Linked DNA regions of Homo sapiens: region 1 is linked to region 2. The links are contacts of gene promoters, found by promoter capture Hi-C in human tissues and cell types (Jung and others, 2019). All regions are on one chromosome and are shown on one strand. Each heading gives the region's core, a stretch centred on a gene start or on the middle of the fragment in contact. The rest is flanking DNA. Distances are from core to core; before and after follow the strand shown.

Region 1 (2,894 bases), core at 158-2,657, 540 kb after region 2:
CTTTGGAAGGCTGAGGTGGGAGGATCACTTGAGCCTGGGTGTTTGAAATCAGTCTGGGTAACATAATGAGACCTCATCTCTATTAAAATTAAAAAACTAGCCAGGCATGGTGGTGAACACCTATAGTCCCAGCTACTCGGGAGGCTGAGGCAGGAGGATCACTTGAGCCCAGGAGGTTGAGGCTGCAGTGAGCCATGATTGTACCACTGCACTCCAGTCTGGGCCCCAGAGCAAGATCCTATCTCAAAAACAGCAACAACAAAAGAATAGGATGTTGCCAAAATAGGACAAACAACTGAGCTGAACGTTGGATGTTTTTAATCATAAGCATGGCTTGATTTACATCACTCCCTTCAGAAATGCAAAGGCTTCAGACATCGAGCCAAAGGCAAAACCATTGCAGGTATGTGGGGCCGGGAGAGCCCCAGCGAAGTCAGCTTGGTGCCCACTCCAGGCAGGCACAGGGCCAGCCCTGCTATGCTCCTTATCTCCTTTAATCCCCTAGCAACCCCAGAAGGTAGGTTTGTGATGATCCACACTCTGCAGATGAGGAAACTGAGGTTCAAGAGAGTTACTAACTTGCCCCTGGACATGCCCCTGGGAAGTGGCCGGGATGAGTTGGAAACCCATATCTACTTAGCTCCATGGTCCGGCTCTGTGTGCACTAAGACATCAATTACCCCCCGGGACTGGAAACCAGAAGGAGGCGGGCAATAGGTTGTGTTTGCTGACGGATCCCACCCAGAACTGATCCTACTGGATCTCCCTTAGGGAGACTCAGGAATCCTCACTACAGTGAATTACATGCACAGTTTTGGTGGCCAGAGGGGCATTTAGATGATGGCTACAGGAGTGCTTTTTTGAAAGCTTCATTAACTATACAAGTCAATACCCTATTGCAATTTCCATGAAATGGGTAATTCGGTGAAGTTCTTTTTTAACAAAATGTTGCATCAATGAGGGAATTCAGGGTGGGAGATCAACAGGAAGTTACAGTTGGAACCAATTTCAACCCACATAGAAAGATCCGGAAGCCTTGCAAGGAGACCATCACAGTAATCCGGCGTGAGAGTGCCGAGGCGTAGCTGCTGGAATCATCGCCCATTTTTCTAATTTGCAGCCTAGGAGCTGATCGTGCAACCCTGTTAGGGAGCTAATATAGGATGAAGATGGGACAAGTTGGTGTCGAGAGTAACACGCCGGCTCCTTAGCGGAGGTCTGAAGAACAATCGAGTTGAATTAATTTCTAAGAGACCCCATGACAGATTCTTGATGATGATCCCCAATTAGGGAAACCTCGGTTTCGTTTTTGTTTAATGTCAGGAAGTTAAGAGGCTGTGGGCGGATGGCTGTGAAAGACACGGAGGGTGAAAGCCTTGCCTCTCTTGAAACGTATGGGGCCGTGGCTGCAGGTCCTTTCATGCCTTCTCCAAAGAGGAAGTCGTGAAATCTGTGTGTCTCAGCCCATGTCCAAAGAGGGAAACGCTGTGATGAGAAGATACAGCGGTTCAACTCATTCTGGAGCCCACAGAGGCTTAAAAGAGGGGGAGAATCTGTTTCATGAAAAAGGGAAAGATTCAGTCTTGAACCAGATGAATGTGCCTGGGTGAAAATGCGTCAGTGGTACCAGAAAATCCAGACAGAATCCTTCCTCTGGGTTTTTCCCAAATCAACAAGTGTCTTTGGTTGCTGGGACGCAGGGAGAGAGCTGTTCATGGAGGAGCGTGGGAGGTCACATTCTTGAGGCCTGTTTAGTTTATCCTGTTAAAAGGAGGAGATGTGAGGCCAGGCACAGTGGCTCACACCTGTAATTCCAGCACTTTGGGAGGCCAAGGCAGGTGGATCACTTGAGGTCAGAGGATTGAGACAAGCCTGGCCAACATGGTGAAATCCCATCTCTACTAAAAATAAAACAAACAAACAAACAGAAACGCCTGGCGTGTTGGCTCACGCCTGTAATCCCAGCACTTTGGGAGGCTGAGGCAGGCGGATCACCTGATGTCAGGAGTTCAAGACCAGCCTGACCAACATGGAGAAACCCCGTCTCTACTAAAAATACAAAATTAGCCAGGGGTGGCTATGCATGCCTGTAATCCCAGGTACTCAGGAGGCTGAAGCAGGAGAATCGCTTGAACCCAGGAGGCTGAGGTTGCAGTGAGCCGAGATAGTGCCATTGCACTCCAGCCTCGGCAACAGAGTGAGACTCCATCTCAAAATAATAATAATAATAATAATAATAATAATAATAATACACCATATATTAGGGAAGAGATTTTTGTTTTTTTTTTAAACCACTTTCAGTCTCTTGATATCTCATTGCAAGTAAATAACCAAAGTACAGCCTGGTCTGGACAGGAGATCACCTCAATTTGGGGCAGCTCACACAATACAGTCTAAAATGTGGATGTTGCTGGGGGCGACCTCATTAGTCAGGCAGTCACCCCTGTGAGAGGGCGATGCGTCCCACTGCCAAGACGCTCAAGTACCAATATGGAATGCCAGTCCCTTAAAAGATTTTCCCTCCCTACGTCCCTGCGAAAGAGAGGCTGCCTGGATAATAGTCTTTCAATGTGTTGTGAAAAAAAAAATAGTGTTTCTAGCAAAAGTGTTAAAGTTTTATGGGAAAGTAAATTACTGTCTACCTGGTATAGATGCTTTTCGCGATGTAGCAGGCATTAATTACACATCTGAATGTGACAAGATCAGTCTTCGGTTTACTGAATTGAAGACGGTCTGCTCACCAGGAGGGGGTTTTCCTGAATATCATCAGGGTTCCTCCTCCTACTCCATGTCCGGTTTTACTGTGTACTCCTGGGATGGGATCTGAGGCTGGAAAGAGCTAGAAAACCCCTCCGAGTCCCCCCAGAGAGATGGTAGCCTGTACACCCAGGTGG
Region 2 (2,700 bases), core at 41-2,540:
CCCCTGCTCCCTGTCCCAGCCTCTGCGTCTGGTCTCTGGATAGGCAGTAAACAGCAGCACCACCTCCTTACCTCCTTCAGTGACCGTTTTAAACCAGTCCAGGAGCTTCTCCAAACAGGTGTCATCTGCCACCGGCTGCCTGGGATCTACCAGAACAGCACAGAGAGCCGGGAGCAGCTGGGCGCATTCTGGGTCCATGGTGAGGCCGCAGGCCCTGCAAAGGCAATGTGAGAGCCAAACCTCAATGCCCACTCCAGACCCAGCTCGCTCTAGTCACAGCAGCCCACCATGCCTGCTCAGGCCTGGGAAGGGGCCCCAGAACTTTCATCTCAGACCAGGAGAACCATGATCCCCAGACCAGAGGTCTGTACTGCAGGGATGGATGCAAAGCTTTGGTCTAGGTGGGGCCCTGAGCGCTGGTGGCGGGGCTGAAAGGGGCAGATGAGGGTCTAGCTGAAACCACAAGGCCTCCGGAACTCAAAGTCTGTCACCCTTGGTCTTTGGTGCAGTCGGGGCAACAGCGTGGTGCTGGCCCAGGCTGCAGGTGGGCCAGAGTCAGGGGCATCTTTGAGTTCCGGGGTCAGCCATGTGTGCAAGGGGATGTCTACCCATGCCCCAGGGCCAGCCTGGGCTGGAAAGTTTCTGTCCCTCCCAGCGTCAAGTGGTGGCTGCATTTGACGTCCTGAAGCCAGCAGGGGGGTGCGGAGGGGAAGGGGCGCCTGTCCGTGTGTCTGTCCCTCTCAGGGTCAGTGGTGGCTGCATTTGCTGTTCTGCAGCCAGTAGGAGGGTGAGGAGGGGAAGGGGCACCTGTCCGTGTGTCTGTCCCTCCCAGGATTAGTGGTGGCTGCATCTGAAGCCGGCGGGGGGGAGAGGGGGGCGGCGGGGTGCGGAAAGGAAGGGGCGCCTGTCTCTCCCAGGACCAGGTGTGCATCCGTGCGTCCAGCCTCGGGGGTGGGCGGGGTGGTCAGCGGCTCTGTCTAACCGGGGCACCGTCTGCCAATGCCCGGGAAGGCTGCGTCCCGGGAAGAGGAACCCTCCCCACACTTTGAAGTCAGTTTTGGCCGCGAGCGCCAGGCCCGAGAGTCCAGAAGGGGCGCCAGAGCAGGCGGCCACAGTCGGGCTGGGAAGCGAGCCCAGGTCGCGCACGCCCCGGGCTGGGCTGCTCCCTGGCCCGCCCGCCCCCCTCGGCCGGGTCTTGGCCTCCCCGCGCCCCACTACCACGACCTCGACCCCCGAAGGCCCACGCGCCTCACCGCTCGGTTGCGTCCTCCGCCGCAACCACCCCTCGCCCAAGGCTCCGCCTCCGGACAGTGCCACCTGCCAGGCCCGGAGGAGGCGGAGGACGGAGACGGCTGGCGTGGGGAACTGAGACTGCACCCCTGGAGGCCGCTCTGGAAGCCTCGAGGGCCCAGACTTGAAGGAAGGAGTTCAAGCTGAGAGGGGCTGGGGACAGGCAGGCGCCAAGCCGGTCGCTCCGACAGATCACCCCCGCCAGGCGCCTAGTGGTTCATGCCGAGCATCCGGTGGGTGGGCGGGGCGTCTCGAGGGCGGGGATCTCTGAGGAAGGCGCGGGGTTGTGTCCGGAGGGGCGGGGCTTCGCCTGCAGGGCGCCCAGTGTCTGCACCGGCGGGAGCGAGAAAACTATGTGCCGGAGAGAAGCGTCCTGATCCGTGCACCAAAGCCCTTGGTCATTTAGCTTCAGGTTCTCAAATTAAGTCCTCCGCGGCCGCGCTGTGGCTCATGCCTGTAATTCCAGCCCTTTAGGAGGCGCAGTTGGGAGGATTGCTTGAAGCCAGGAGTTGAGACCAGCCTAGGCAACAAAGCGAGACCCCATCTCTTAAAATTTAAAAAAAAAAAAAAAAAAAAAAAAAAAGGCCAGGCGTGGTGGCTCACGCCTGTAATCCCAGCGCTCTGGGAGGCCCAGGCGGGCGGATCACGAGGTCAGGAGTTCGAGACCAGCCTGGCCAACATGGCGAAATCCCGTCTCGTCTCTAATTTTTGTATCTCTAAGATATCAAAATTAGCCGGACGTGGAGGCGCGCGCCTGTAATCCCAAGTACTCGGGAGACTGAGGCAGGAGAATCTCTTGAACCTGGGAGGCGGAAGTTGCAGTGAGCCAAGATGGTGCCACTGCACTCCAGCCTGGGCTACAGGGCGAGACTCCGTCTCAAAAAAAAAAAAAGAAAATCAGCCAGACCTGGTAGCATGCGCCTGTGGTCCCAGCTACTCCAGAGGCTGAGGCGGGAGGATCGCTTGAGCCCAGAAGTTCAAGGCTGCAGTGAGCTATGATCCTGCCCCGGCACTCCAGCCTGGGCAACAGAGCAAGACCCTGTGTTTTAAGAAAGCAAACAGGCAGAAAAACTAGGTCCAAAAAATTGAGTTCAAAACACTAACTGTGTGTTCGAGAGTCTCAAAGCCAGTGGATAGACAAGGCTCATGTTCCCAAAGCATTGTTTTATAGCAAGATTGTTGGGAGCCAACACCAGATTTAGGAAACAAAGCAGAATTCCTATGGATATTAAAATTTAAAAATTTAAAAGCACTGACTTTGCTGGGTCACCTTTATTTTATTTATTTATTTATGGAGACGGAGTGTCACTCTTTTTGCCCAGACTGGAGTGCAATGGCTCAATCTTGACTCACTGCAACCTCCACCTCCTGGGTTCAAGCGATTCTCCTGCCTCAGCCTCCCGAGTAGCT

Evidence for each region. The method cuts DNA at HindIII sites, captures the fragments that hold promoters and counts their contacts. A contact is called where the count stands out against the background at its distance.
Region 1: a contact is called between a fragment that was not itself captured here and the fragment with the promoter of BRAT1 in region 2, in 1 of the 25 tissues and cell types used here (lymphoblastoid cells).

Annotation. Positions count from the first base shown.
Region 1 is chr7:3,093,825-3,096,718 of GRCh38, forward strand. LOC105375130 (a long non-coding RNA gene) reads right to left here. Exons shown (of 2, transcript XR_007060191.1): 2 at 302-1,761. Among named protein-coding and RNA genes, the nearest start is that of CARD11, 51 kb to the left of the region's middle. The HindIII fragment of the contact is 3,745 bases long and covers 1-2,894 here.
Region 2 is chr7:2,554,234-2,556,933 of GRCh38, forward strand. BRAT1 (BRCA1 associated ATM activator 1) reads right to left here and starts at 1,291. Exons shown (of 14, transcript NM_152743.4): 1 at 1,254-1,291; 2 at 72-214. The coding sequence starts at 198. RefSeq lists a silencer at 1,046-1,285 and an enhancer at 1,198-1,875. The HindIII fragment of the contact is 14,393 bases long and covers 1-2,700 here.